Regions from separate parts of the Homo sapiens genome. Here all the other regions are linked to region 2. The links are contacts of gene promoters, found by promoter capture Hi-C in blood cells and fetal thymus (Javierre and others, 2016). All regions are on one chromosome and are shown on one strand. Each heading gives the region's core, a stretch centred on a gene start or on the middle of the fragment in contact. The rest is flanking DNA. Distances are from core to core; before and after follow the strand shown.

Region 1 (3,866 bases), core at 897-3,396, 290 kb before region 2:
CCAGGATTGTCTGGGCAAATAAGGACATTTGTCTGATCCACTTGTAACTTGCAAACACATGCTTAACAAACGATGCACAAGAGAAAATGGCTTCCTGCCCCTCATCTTCCCTGAAGAGCTCACTGCTCCTGAAAACTGAGACATTTGGGGGATTGGAAGCTTTTGAATAACACGGGGGTTCAGAAGGAAAGAAAGAAATGAGTTGAAGGGTTAGCAGATTTTCGAGAAGATTCTTATATACATAATACTTCATACATGTGTATCTGAAGCATAAATACCCACTCCCGATAGAAGAGAGTGGCCATTTCCCCACACCCCCACCAACACACGTCTTCTTCAATCTTACAAGCCACAGTCTCTCTAATGTTCTTATAGAATGAAGTCATTCCTCTTATGTCTGGCTCCACCTGCTTTGCACACAGCCAGACTTATCTCCTCAAAAACTCAGTGCTGGCATGATGAAGACAAGCACAGTGACTTTAGGTCACCTTATGCCTCTGCGTGAGGAAGGTGCCAGAGCCACAAGACAGCAGGAGCTGGCTTCTTCCTAACGTGCTATAAAATCCCATAAGGCAAATCCCCCCACTACTTTTCTTTTTCAGAAATTCCAGCCTGTTCATGCTTGTTAATTTTCCCAAGCAAACGTTAGCATCAGCTAATCCCTTCACAGTTTTTTTTTTCTCCAAGTATCATCTTGAAGTATTTAACATAAAAGTTCATTTAGGGAGAAATGACACCTCTATGTTGTCTTCTTGTTATTTACATAAGAAATGCTTTATCTTTTCATTTAAGTCTCCTTTCATGTTAGAGTTTTGTTTTTGTTTTTGTTTGTCTGTTTTATAATACAGAGCCTTGAACCACAACTCCAGACAATCTGATTTCATATCTTTGGAGCTGGGTCAGGGAAAAGAGCATCAGCGGTATAACAAAACAGGCCCAAGGCTTGAAAGATAACCTTAGCATAATGTATTTCACATCATTGCCTACAGACTGCCTCAAATCTTGAAATTAGGAGGCAAATATTTTTCTAACTTGCCCTTTTTCTAAATTATTAATAATCATGGGTAAAACAGCCTTTTACGTGCTACACCAGGAATGTGGCCAAGTGTGTTGATGTGGAAAGAGGCAAGGTTAGCCCAGAGGACATGGGTTAGAGGAGGAAGAGGGGAGGAGGAGGGAGATGCCATTTTTGGAAAAGTCTGGGCTTTGGTTTCCCACCAGTGAATTTCATTTAAATAAAAAAAGCACTCCACATATGTATTGCTATGACAATACTAAGTCTCTTGCTCTGAGTTTCTTAGTATGTGTCAAACCAAACAGAGTCAACCCTACTGCCCAAAATTGTTGTGAGGCTCAAATGAAACCACATATCCATTTATACTGGAACAACTGTACCATATCCCCAAACTGTAAAATGATTAAAAAGTGAAATGTCATTATTATTACTTTTTTTCTCATGGGAAATTATATTTTAAGTTATAAACATGCGACCTGCATTTTGAAATCCAACATGCCCTTGAGTTTGGGATCCTTGCAGATGGCAAGAGTTCATGCCTATGTTCCCTACGTGCTTTCAGAAAGAAAAGCAGTCAGGTGAGGATTCTTTAAGGATCAGCCAGCTCCTTTTAAAAGGTAAAGAGGTGTTCTCGGCCGGGCGCGGTGGCTCACACCCAGCACTTTGGGAGGCCAAGGCAGGCAGATCACCTGAGGTCCGAATTTCAAGACCAGCCTGACCAACGTGGAGAAACTCTGTCTCTATTAAAAATACAAAATTAGCCGAGCATGCTGGTACATGCCTGTAATCCCAGCTACTCAGGAGGCTGAGGCAGGAGAATCGCTTGAACCTGGGAGCCAGAGGTTGTGGTGAGCTGAGATCACGCCATTGCACTCCAGCCTGGGCAATAAGAGCGAAACTCCGTCTTGAGGAAAAAAAAAAAAAAAAAAGAGGTGTTCTCTTCTCTTCCACATCCCCTCTTGTCTCATCTCATGGGTTTCAGGATTTTTTTTTTATATCCTATTTGTAATGGGCCCTTAATGCTATTCCTCATCTTTTCTTTCCTTTTGATACTTCTCTTGCCCTGTCTCTCTTTTCTCAAAAATATAGAATTGTCTTTTATCTTCCCTTAAAAAGAATCACTTCCACAATGATAAGTTAGTTCACATTTTTTTGGAAGTCCCAACAGTACGATGTAACAGAAGTGTTCACATTCTTTGATTCCTCAATCCCAACCTTGGGCAACAGTCTCAGGACAGCAACTCAAAAGAAGAAAAAAAAGACAAAAACTACATGTAAAAAGATAATTACAGAAAAATACTGGAAAATGTTCAAGGATGCAAATAAACTAGTGCTGAATTTATAAGAGAAAATAACACACAACTTTAAGGAAGAAAAGTGGAGACTTTGCAGAAATGTTTTTGCATTGCTTATGATAGGTGAAAAATTAAGAATACAAAACAATATCCACATTATGACTAAAATTACGTAAAATTATGTTCATAAATAGAAATGATCAGAAGAGGACAGAGAGGGGAGACAAGGCACAATCGCTGTGGGGCTGCTTTAATAATACAGAGTGCACAAAAAAGGAAGATCCTCTCGAGGGCTCCCCCCGAGCAGTTCACCCTTTCTTCCTCATTTTCCAGCCAATTCCAAAATACTGTAAGAAAAATAGAGGGTTTTGCATCAAGTAACATTGAAACATTTATTTGCTAAAAACCAAGTGTGAATTTTTGACATCTTCCCAATTGCTACTCCAACCACCAGCTGCCAGTAGAACACAGGATTGTTCTGCGGCTTCCTATAAACATCATACAGTTGTCATTAACTAAGGGTCTTGTTATAATGTAAAAAAATGGCAACTTTGCTTTCTTAAAGCAGGACGCTTCACCAGGCAAGGAAGTCAGCATGAGGCTGCGTGCGGCACAGCCCTCATTTGTGTACTTAAAATTTGTTTACTAAAATCTTTTATTACATTGTCATTAACAATGTTCCCAAATTTTTGCAAACACAGGGACTCAAACCACATCATAAATTAAAAGCAGGAACAGACTGTACCAGTTTGCTGGCACTCAAACATGATTAGCTTATTGGGCCATAAACCCAACTTTTAAAAATATAAGTAAATAATTTTAAGTTGGAATAAAACCTATTTAGTAATCAAGTAGGACTAGGACAGAAGCACTAAAATATTCTATGAAGAGCAGGGATGCATTATCCTATTCAAGTTTGTACTCTCAAATCATTTATATATTTTTCCTAACTACTTCTGAATTCACATTTGTTCTGGATAGGTTGGGTAATGCATATTATGTATTTGTTTAAATGCTTTATGTAAATGAACTCATTTAATTATCACAAATAACCCTAAGGTGTAGGTAGAACTATTACCCCCATGTGGCAGATCTGTAAATTGAGGCCCAGAGAGGCCACACTACTATTAAGTGACTAAGCCAGGAGTCAAACTGGGCTGTCCAGCCCTCAAGCGTATGTTCACGGAGAAGTCACCTATAGCACATCAGTGTTATTACTTTTGACTTAATAGTGCCCTGGCGCAGGTGTCCAGGGAAGGGTTCCAGGAAAGGAGGACGACACTGCTAGGGTGAAACACGCAAAGTGGAGAGCCAGAGGAACCCGGGGTGGACAGCCTGGGAAGGACATTGAAGCCATTGGGATTCGTTTCCTTGCTCCTAAGCAAAATGCTTGCTCAGCTAGGCTCACAGACTGGTGGTGACGACAAACTTTGTGAAAATGTTTACTAAGTTGTAAACCCTGCATACATCAAGCATTATTTTTTTCCAAAGTTAAAATTTCTAAATACCTGACTTGCAATAGAATTGCTGCTAAAATATATCACACACTTCGCCAC
Region 2 (3,612 bases), core at 730-3,229:
CACCACATCGCTGCAATCAAAGAAAAATAGAGTATACTAAAACTGGCTTGGCAAACTTCTAATTAACGATCAAAACTCCTTGGAGCTAAGGTGCCATTTTCCCAATAGGCTGCTATTTTTAAAATATTTTTCTTTGAAAACAACAGCATGATTAATCTCACCATTTCCACTTAAATTACTTATATGAAAACAGCAGTGCACTATGGGCAATTATTAAAAACACTTTATTATGTATAATTTGTACATGCTTCAATTTGTGTCACTTAGGGTGATTTATTTTCCAGGTTGTAATGACATCTACCGAGATTAGCTAGATCTAATTTTCATTCTGCCATGCCACATACAAAAATACAATTTTCAAACAAAGCTTCCCTTCTTTACACAAAGGTACACAAGAGTTTGTCAGACAAATAAAATAAGAATACTTCACACACGTATCAACACCATACAAGGCATTATTCTTCACACAGTAACATCTAATGTGTTCTTTTATTTTTGAAACAGCAGGAAAAGAGCCCTTTCCCTTCAGAGGAAAATAAAAACTTTATCTGTTGCTTAAGCCAAACTCCAGGGAGGAAGGTGTGGTCCTCTGGGGAAAGTAGAGGGATGGGGATGTATGGAGGAGAATGGACGCCCCTTCATAAGCACTTCAGGAGGAAGGAATTGCAGGAGGTTCCTCGGGGACAGTCACACAGCTTCCCGATCCTTGCCCCTTTCCTCACTGCACACTGCTCACCGGCGTCACACTGAAACAACAAAATGTGTGGTCATCGAGTATGAACAAACCCAGGTTCCCAACAGGCAAGTCTCACAGTCAACGCAATTTCTGTCTCTTGAAAGGGGCAATTGGACCCCATCACCATCACAAGAGGTCTACGTACAGTCAGATCTGAAACAGGGAGCCTTGTGCTTATAACCTCAGTGAGAGTACATTTTTTAAAGAAACTTACATTATTAGTTTTATCCTAGTTTCTTCCACCTTTAAGTGGCGAGGGTTGGGGGGCGTGGGAAGGGGAGCATCACATTTCCTGGCTCCTTTTCTTGCCCTCTCAGAGGGGAAAAAAATCAGACCTTTTTCCTGAGCAACAAACAATAGACTTACACTTTCTTACAACCCCTGTTCCTGCTTTCCCATTTCCTCACCCGGGAAGGAAGAAGGAGCCCACAGAATCCTGCAAGCCCATTACCTAAGTTATTTAGCCACATCCTACGGAGAAGACTGTGTGTACGATTCAAGGCGGTGTACTTTCTCTTGGAAAAACACGGGAAGGGAGTGACCACAAACCTTACCATGGGGACTTGGCCATACTTCTTCTCATAGATGGGAACACGTTTACTCTTGAGCTTCTTCAAGACTTCTTGCAGCGCTTCGATCTGCAACACACCGCTTCGGAGCCTGAAGTTGCCGCCTTGGCTGCGAGCCCAGCCCAGGTGCGCACTTCCAGCCCTAGTTATAAGGAGCCCCGGACCCACACGCACTCTGCGGTGGGACTCCGCGGACACAGGGAATGGTCGAGGGGTGGAAACTTAGCGGACGCTGTCCCAGGTACTGACCGCGGGTCTCTGAGCCGCTGGGGTCCCTGTTGCTCAGAGGGGCCGGGATGAGGGATTCGCTCAACAGACTGCCAGGAGCCCGTGAGCTCGAGACGCTCTTCGGATGGCAGTGGGTGCCTGGGCGTTGCGCTCAGCTCCCCGCGCCCTGACTCTGGGAATAGGAGTGGGGGTGGGGGGAGGAGGGAGGCGTGCAAGAGAAGAGACAAGGCGACAGCTCAAGGGGGTCGAGAGCGAGGGGAATACCGACCAGCTCCTTCTCGTGGGAGGCATCATCCACGGCAGAGTAGATGTCCAGGGCTCGGGGCTGGAGCTCGGCGTCCTCCTGGGCACGGGTACCCAACAGAGGTAGCATCAGCAGCAGGGCGGCGCCCAGGAGGGGCAGCAGCCTCACGCGGGAGCTCTCCATCGTTCTGAAACTCGTCGTTGCTGGGGCACCACGCGCTCCCACCTTTTATAGTGAGCCCGAGCCCCCGTGCAGGAAAGAGGGAGGAGGCGAAGAAGGAAGGGGGTGTGGAGGAGGGCCCGGGTCAACCGTCTGTAGGCAGCGCTCCGCCGGCGCTTGACGTCAATGCCCGCCGGGTTCCAGGCGCCTGGGAACGAGGCTCTGCGCACAGATGGGCTAGAGCGCAGAGAACAGGACCCTGCGCCCCCAAAGGCTGTCAGTCTCACGGCAAGGGATGCTCCCCGAGGGGCCTGAGCTGAAGCCGAGGGGCTAGAGGTGAGGGACGGGAAGCGGGAGGGGCCTAGGAAATGGAAAATGCCTTCGGGTCAATGCACAGGCAGGAGAGTCGTTTCCCAACACCTAGCAGTGGTGACAGCTGCAACATCCACCTCGCCAGCCCTGCCTTGCCTCGCACCCCAACCCCAAGTGTGGCGGTGAGAAGGGGGTGTTGCCTCCAGACAGCCACATTTGCTGAGCACCTTACTCTGTGGGGTAGGGGAAGCAAACATACTATACAAAAGAAAGAGAAATAGTGGCCCTCCACGTGATGGGTTCTATGATGGAATCTGTGTGACAATAGTTAAAAGAAGAGAGGGAAAACAGACAAACCCGGATTCAGCAGTGGTGTTGGAAGTGCAGAGAGCCAGGCTCTGGTTCCCATCCTGGCTACACCACGTAAAAGTTGTATGACTTTGAACAAAATGAAGAACCTCTCCAAGCCTCAGCTTTCTCTTTTGTAGATCTAGGATTAAAAAGATATACCTCACAAAGTCATCAGTAGGATGAAATGAGAGATTAAGTATGTCAAACTCCTGGTTCTTAGCTAAGCTTCCCTGTCCCTCCTTTTTGAACTTTGAGGCTGCCCAGGCAAATTTAACCATCCCCAGAACCTCCCCCCACCCACCACCAACCCTTGGTATCCAAGAAGCCTGTCTAGAAAGAGAGTAAAAGAGTGAAAAGAAAGACAGCTCCATGATTATGAAAATATCTCCAGAGATCAGAAGTCAATGGTGAACCAGCTCCCCAACAACTTGGGAGAACAATGTGGCTTTTTTAAAAGTTGAGATCCTTACAGCCTGAATGCACAGGAAAATTCCTGTAGGAAAAGCAATGCTTTCCCGCTTAGACCTGCTTGCTCACCTGGCTTCCTTCACCACACCATCTTTCCCTCAACTGTTCCTAAATTCATCCACTCTTCTCCATCCCCATTACTACAACCCAGTCCTAGACAGCTGCCCCAGTCAACTTAATGTCTACCACTTAATCCCCACCCTATCTTCTCTTGCCTTCCTCTACTCCATAGTTCACCACCAACCAGAGTATTTTTCCCCTTAAAATACACTAATGACTCCTAATCTTACTAAGCACTGAATCTAGATTCCTCATCCTGACTTGCAAAGCATTATATGATCTTCACCCCTCTCCACCTCATGTTCTACCACTCTGCCCCAGACTCCTCCACTCCAACCTCACATGGCCTTCTTTCTGGTCCTCTAGCAGGCCAATCTCATTCATACTTTGATGTCTTTGCACTTACCCCTCCTTGAAAGGTCTTCCTGTATTTCCAAAAGGCTCACTACTTCTGTTATTTAAATCTCAGTGTAAATATCTATGAC
Region 3 (3,528 bases), core at 740-3,239, 260 kb before region 2:
ACAATTCCCGAGTAGAAAAAAATGTTTCCTGTTTATAGACCCACAGAAAAGTATGGGAATAGCATATGAAGGCTATATCAGGAAAAGCATATCTAAGACTTTAGTTCTAAGAATGGCAGAACAAAAAGATTGTTCCATAGAACAGTGAATTTGAGCCTTCTCGTGTGGGGTTTCCCTATCCCCTATAGCTCTGCAGGGAAACCCTGCAGCTTTATTTGCAAGAAGTGGCAGGTTTGGTTCAGGATTAGTGGAAAACTGCTAGAAATTTAAGGGGGACATTTTGGAGGCAAAAGAGTCATGGAAGAGCTGAAATAATAAACTCTCTACACACCCTCATTCTGACTGCTAAACTACACCATTACAAGTGTGCAGAGGAGGAAAGTGAAAGTCCGAATTTTCTTGAGGTCAGAAGGTGGAAGTCTTACTGACTTGATGTGTCTGAACACACCCTCAGCACTAATTGCTGGCTGACCACTAAACTATGCAAGCACAGGAGAGAGCCCCAAGGGGCCAGGTGTTTTTTAAAAGCCAATCTGAGCAGAGACATCAGCAACTTCACACCATAAAGGAGACAGATTTTGAAGCTTTAGTCCAGAAAATTAAATTGCCCATTAAAACAAACAAACAAGAAAACAATTACCCCCCCAAGACCCCAAATCCAGAATTGCTATTGTGTATTACCTACAATACCCAGGTTTTAACCAAAAATTACTAGACAGGCAAAGAATAGGAAAGTGTTACTCATACTCACGAAAAAAGGAAGTCAATAGAAACTGATTCTAAGCAGGCACAGATGTTGAATTTAGCATACAAAGATATGAAAGTAGCTACTATAAATATATTCAACAAATTAAAATAAATTATATCTTTAAAATAAAGGAAAATATACTAATAATGAGTGAACACATAGGGACCCTAACAGATACATGAAAACTATAAAAATGAATCAAATGGAAATTCTAAAACTGAAAGATACACTAACTAAAATAAAGAAAATTTACTAAATGGCCTCAATAGCAGATTTGAGATAGCAGAGGAAAGGATCAGTGACCTTGAACATAGAACACAGTGAAAAAAGATGGAAGAAAAATGAAGAGACTGAGAGATCTACTGGGAAATATGAACCATTTTATCATATGTCTAAATGGAGTTCCAGAAGAACAGAGAGAAAGAAGCAGGAAAGTATATGAAGAAATAATAACACAAAGTTTCCCAAGCTTGGTGAAAACATTAACTTCCAGGTCCAAGATGCTCAATGTATCCCAGTAGTATAGACACAAAGAAAACCATATCTAGATGCATCATATTCAAATTACTGAAAGCTAATGAGAAAAATCTTCAAAGCAACAAGAAAAATGACCATTTCATATAGGGGAACAATGATGCAATTAATGGCTGGCTTCTTGCCATACAAAATGGACGTCAAAATACGTTGCACAAACATTTTCAAAGTGCATAAAGAAAAAATACTGTAAACTAAGAATTTTATAGTCAATAAAGTTATTCCTCAAAATGAAAGCAAAATAAGAAAATTTCAAGATAAACAAAATGTGAGGAAATCAATCCTGGCAGACATGCACTATGAGAAATGTTGAAGGAGGTCCTTCAGGCTGAAGGGAAAACATATATGACAATAATATTACAAAGAAGAGGAATGTAATGAAGCTATATTGGGGCAAACATATTATCTCTTATTGAAAATAAGGCTACTTAAAGTAGACTATAATAAAATAAAGACACATATATTAATCCCCAGAATAATCACCAAAAATAATTCAAAGAAATATAGCTAAAAGTTAATAGAGGAGTTAAAATAGTACAATAAAAGATATTTATGTAGTGCAAAGTAAGAAATAAAGCAGTTATGGAAGAAAAATGAGAGATTAGACAAATATAAAATAGCAAAAAGTCATAAACAAATCCAAACATATCAATTATTACACTAAATGTGACTGCACTAAATACTTTAATCAAAAGACATAGATTGATACACTGGATTTTTTAAAAAAGATCCAACTGTAATTGTCCACAATTTTTCAGAGTGATAATAGTATTGTAAAACTCATGGTGATAGCTGCATAAGGCATACATTTTTCCAAAACACATCAAACTGTACGCTTAAAAAAAGGTAGATGTTTTCTTCATTGTCTTCTGGCAAAAAAAGGGGGATGTTAGCTTTATATAGATTATACCTCTATAAAGCTGTAAAAAAAAAACAATAAAAAGAGGACATATTCCAAATCATTCTATGAATCCAGAATATCCATCATAACATATTCAGATAAGAATAAAAAGGCAGATATCAGGCCATTCTCACTTAAAAAGTAGATGCAAGAATCCTAAACAAAATATTAACAAAATGAATTCAGCGATGTGTAAAGACAGATGAAACGTCAAGATCAAATTGGGTATATCCTAAGAATGTAAGGCTGGTTGAACCTTTAAAAGTTAGTAAGTACAATCTATCATAGTCATAAATTATAAGAGTAAACACATGGTCGACAGAAGAGACGCAGAAAGAGCATTTGATAAAATATATCATTCTTTCGGATTTAACAAAAATATAACTCTTATGAAACTTAGAATAAAAAGAAATTTCCTTAACATGATAAGTGAAAGAAAAGTAACAGTAAACAACATACTTAATGGTAAAAATGCTTGAGATCAGGAAACATCGAAAAATATCTGCTTTTACTACTCCTTTTCAACATCTTAAATGTGATGAACAACAGTTTCAGTCAGACAAGAGGAATAAGCTTTAGTGATCTATTAAACAGAATCGTGACTATGATAAATAATAATGCATTGTGTATTTCAAAATTGCTAAAAGAGATTTTAAATGTTTTCACCACAAAAAGTGATAAGTATGTAGCGATGGATTTGTTAATTGTCCTGATTTAATCAATCCACATTGTAAGCATATCAAAACATCACATTGTACCTCATAAGTACATATAATTGTTATTTGTCAATTAAAAATAAAAATTTAAAAATATAAATATACAAAGTATAATCCATAAAGGAGAAGATTGATAAAACAATATATGAAAATTGAAAATTTTTTTTCTAAAAAACACTATAAAGACAATGAAGACAAGCCACAAATTGTGACAAGATATTTGCAACTAATATAAACAAAGATTTAGTATTTAGAATGTATACAAAATTCCTACAAATTAATAATACAGAGATTGCCAATTCAATAAAATGGGAAAAATTATGAAAAATTTCACAAAAAAATACTAAGGCTGATAAACAACGAAAAAATTATCAAACTTTTGTATTCACAGAAGTGAAAATTAAAACTACAGTGAGATACCATTTCACAACTTCCAGTTTGACAAAACTTTAAAGATCAGACAATGTTAAGTATTGTTGTTATGAAACAAAAACTTTCATGCTATTAGTAGGAGTATGAGTTATCACAAACACTTTGGGAAACAATTGGCAGTACCTTACAGAACTGAACATATGCATACCCTATGATTCAGCAATTTCTCTATAATATATGCGTTCATAGAGTCATCT
Region 4 (3,963 bases), core at 1,003-3,502, 260 kb after region 2:
TAGATGGAATATTAAAAAGTTGTAGCACATTACCCTCAATAGCTTTTAGTTTTTATTTATCTACTTTTGAGATGGGGTTTTGCTCTGTCATCCAGGCTAAAGTGCAGTGGCGCAATCATAGCTCACTGCAGCCTTGAACTCCTGAGCTCAAGCAGTCCTCCCACCTCAGCCTCCCAAGTAGCTGGGACTACAGATGCTTGCCTAACACCTGGCTAATTTTGTGGGGTTTTTTTTTTTTTGGTAGAGATGGAGTCTCCCTACGTTGCCAAGGCTGCTCTCAAATTCCTGGGCTCAAGTGATCCTCCTGCCTCACACTCCTAAAGCACTGGAGTGAACCACACACCCAGGCAGTATTTAGATTTTAACAATTAAAGTGACTAGGACTAGATAAAAGCTCAATGTGGCCAGGCACAGTGGCTTATTTCTCTAATCCCAGCACTTTGGGAGGCTGAGGCAGGAGGATCGCTTGAGCTCAGGAGTTACCAGCCTGGGCAACATAAATGAGACCCTATCTCTACAAAAAAATACAAAAAAATTAGCTGGATGTGGTGGCATATGCCTATAGCCACAGCTACTTGGGAGGCTGAGGTGGGAGGATCACTTGAGCCTGGGAGGTTGAGGCTGCAGTGAACTGCAATTATACTAGCGCACTCCATCCTGGGTGACAGTGAGACCTTGTCTCAAAACTAAATAAATAACCAAAGAATAAAACTAATAAAGCTCAATGTATAAAATGCTTACTGATGCCTTCTAACTAAACATCTTAATAGCTCACTGAGAATTTATGCTTACACAGCTTTTTTTTTACCCTGTAGTGACTTGAAATTCTGTGTATTTTGTAAAATTCTTGAAGCAAATGTTTAATCTTTAATTCCCCAAAATAAATTAAATAAGCAAATAAGCAGTTTCTGTAAAATACAGAACTTTTTTTTAATCCCCCCACCCCCAATTCCCAACCCATAAAACATTTTTAGAGGCTTTGATCTGTCGCCCAGGCTGGAATGCAGTAGCACAATTTCAGCTCACTGCAACCTCCGCCTTCCAGGTTCAAGCAATTGTTGTGAGGCTTACATTTTAGAAGACATAAATTGAAAGCTTGTTTTCTCCTGTGTGAAACAGTGATATCTACTTCACATAGTTGATATAATTACATAAGATAACAGATATAAAGCACCAAGCAAAATGCCTTCCCTTAATTTAAAAAAAACTAAGAGGCATTTTATAATTCATAACAGAAGCTGACACTGGTTGGACACTTACTATTTTCATGACACTAGTTTTTTTGTTTGGTTGGTTTTTTTTGAGACGGAGTCTCGCTCTGTCACTCATGCTGGAGTGCAATGGCACGATTTTGGCTCACCGCAACCTCTGCCTCCCAGGTTCAAGCGATTCTCCTGTCTCAGCCTCCTGAGTAGCTGGGATTACAGGCGTGCACCACCACAACCAGATAATGTTTGTATTTTTAGTAGAGACGGGGTTTCACCATGTTGGCCAGGCTGGTCTCGAACTCCTGACCTCAGGTGATCCGCCCACCTCGGCCTCCCAAAGTGCTGGGATTACAGGCGTGAGCCACTGCACAAGGCCCAAGACACCAGTTTAAGTGTGTTTTACATGTATTGACTCATTTAATCTTCACAACCCTCTAATGAGCTAGATAGAGGTTGAGCATCTCTTATCTGAAATACTTGAGACCAGAAATGATTCACATTTTGGATTTTTTCACATTTTTGAATACTTGCAGAATACATGCTGGCTGAGCATCTCTAACCTGAAAATTTGAAATCCAATATGCTCCAATGAGCATTTCCCTGGAGCATCACTTTGGCACTCAAAACATTTTAGACTTTGGAGCATTTTCAATTTCAGGGATGCTCAACCTGAACTATTATTGGTCTATTTTACAGATGAGGAAATAGATTAATTAAATTACCCAAGGTCACAAAGCTAGTAAAGAAATGAAGCTGAGATTCAATCCCTAAGTATTTAACTCCAGGGCCAGCATGCTCTACTGCTGTTACCTGCCCTTCTAGAAAAGAAATCAATCCTCAAGATTAAAAAGAACATGGACTCTAATATATGCATAACACAAATTTTTCCCACTTGTAATTTTCCATAGTCAATTTAGAAAACATTACCAATTCATTCTGCTCAACTATATTCGTCTTTTTTTTGGAGACAGTTTCACTCTATCACCCAGGCTGGAATGCAGAGGCACAATCTCGGCTCACTGCAACTTCCACCTCCCAGGTTCAAGCAATTCTCATGCCTCAGCCTCCCCAGTAGTTGGGATTACAGATGCACGTCACCAGGCCCAGCTAATTTTTGTATTTTTAGTAGAGACAGGGTTTTGCCATGTTGGCCAGGCTGGTCTTGAACTCCTGACCTCAAGTGATCTGCCCCCCTAGTCCTCCCAAAGTGCTGGGATTACAGGCATGAGCCACCACGCCCGGCCTATACTTGTCTTAATTCAAATAAATATATCACTTATCACTTGGACATCTTTATGTGAAAAATCAGACTGAAGGTTTATTTTATAAATATGTTTGTGTATGTGCATCTATGTGTATGCGTATGAAACTTATTTGTGGTCTTCACCAAAAACAGTGAAAACATAAATAAATAATGTAAAAATTACTATCAGTGAAAAATGTAATTTAAGTCCACGGTGTATCAATCAATCCATTAACAAGAAGGGATGTTCTATTGACTAAGGGATGTTATGTGGTTTTGTTCCCCCATCAAAATGCTACAAATGCTTTTCTTCCCAATGATTCCTTACTAACATAAATAGAAGGCAACATCAAAATCCTGATTCTCCTCCCTTACCTTCTCTTTTCTCAATTCTTCTTTTAACATTTCCCTCAGTTTCTGGGCTTTGTATATTCGGTATCTGTCTGAGCATGGCTGTTTCTCTTTTGTTGAAGTGGCAGTTGGCTGTGGAGCCTCTTGATTAATTGTAGATAAGGGATGAGATTCTGAAGGAACACTGACACTAGACTTAACCAGGCTAGAAGTACTTGATATTCGCTTTCTTCTCTGTGAAACAGTAGAGGAAGATCTACTGGATTCTTCAACATCATTGTCACCACCAGTCTTTTCAGTACTGTTGAAATTAAAAAAGAAAAAAGAGGGCACATGAATCTTCTGTTACACATGCTAGTTTTAAAACCTAGTCTGGTGAAAATCCAAAACTGCAATCTCGTAATTAAAAAAAAAAAATTAGTAACTTGAGATTTATGATAATTATGACAGGTTACAAAAAAATTTGTTTAGTAAATCTTTTAAATATACGTAAATTCTAATAGACTCTTAATCTTTTTCAAACATAAAGTCCCTAGGCACATTACAGCACATAATTATAGGCTTACCCCCCTCAAAACAAATAACCAACTTACAGAACAAAGCTTAGTCAACCTAATTTGAATTACTAAGTAACAAAGTAATAATTTATAATTAATTTCTATATAAAATTTAAAAAAATTTTAATTCACTCTGACATTTTAAACTGGTCTAAACTACCGGCATTTTACTTTACTTATCAACCCGAGGTCAGTCAAATCAAATATGCAAAACTCCAAACCTCTGAAATATCTGTATTGCAGTATTTGAAGAAAAACATTTAGTTACAGTAGCCAAACCCAATTCCCTTTGAGGCAGAAATCATTTATCTTTTGTCAGGTACAACTCTACTTATACAGCCATCAGAATAAACTTCAGTCAAAAAAAGTACTCAGTCACCCCAAATTGCATATTAGGTATGGTATACCTCAGATATAAGTATTTCAGGAATGGTCTATAAATGCAACTTAAGTCAAGAAAAGAGGTGGTATAAGTCAATAATTAAAAACAGTCTACTTTTTTCCTATTTTATAATTACTTATAAAAAATTAGAAAATGCCTTAACTTATAGAATAACCTTTCCAGGAAGACTTCAATTTAAATTCGTATCTTAGCTGTTATGGA

What was found. The method cuts DNA at HindIII sites, captures the fragments that hold promoters and counts their contacts. A CHiCAGO score of 5 or more calls a contact.
Region 1: a fragment that was not itself captured here is called in contact with the fragment with the promoter of CARTPT in region 2 in 2 of 17 cell types (M1 macrophages and M2 macrophages); the score reaches 6.3 in M1 macrophages.
Region 3: a fragment that was not itself captured here is called in contact with the fragment with the promoter of CARTPT in region 2 in 2 of 17 cell types (M2 macrophages and endothelial precursors); the score reaches 6.7 in M2 macrophages.
Region 4: a fragment that was not itself captured here is called in contact with the fragment with the promoter of CARTPT in region 2 in 1 of 17 cell types (endothelial precursors); the score reaches 7.4 in endothelial precursors.

What each region holds. Positions count from the first base shown.
Region 1 is chr5:72,009,738-72,013,603 of GRCh38, reverse strand. No RefSeq gene overlaps it. Among named protein-coding and RNA genes, the nearest start is that of MAP1B, 96 kb to the left of the region's middle. The HindIII fragment of the contact is 3,969 bases long and covers 162-3,866 here.
Region 2 is chr5:71,717,642-71,721,253 of GRCh38, reverse strand. CARTPT (CART prepropeptide) reads right to left here and starts at 1,979. Exons shown (of 3, transcript NM_004291.4): 1 at 1,802-1,979; 2 at 1,291-1,374; 3 at 209-746. The coding sequence starts at 1,960. The coding sequence ends at 639. RefSeq lists an enhancer at 955-1,841. The HindIII fragment of the contact is 2,457 bases long and covers 370-2,826 here.
Region 3 is chr5:71,980,113-71,983,640 of GRCh38, reverse strand. All of the region lies in intron 1 of LOC124901000 (a long non-coding RNA gene), which reads right to left. Among named protein-coding and RNA genes, the nearest start is that of MAP1B, 130 kb to the left of the region's middle. The HindIII fragment of the contact is 1,539 bases long and covers 1,220-2,758 here.
Region 4 is chr5:71,457,719-71,461,681 of GRCh38, reverse strand. It overlaps BDP1 (BDP1 general transcription factor IIIB subunit), which reads right to left. Exons shown (of 39, transcript NM_018429.3): 2 at 2,827-3,103. Among named protein-coding and RNA genes, the nearest start is that of BDP1, 4.0 kb to the right of the region's middle. The HindIII fragment of the contact is 2,309 bases long and covers 1,098-3,406 here.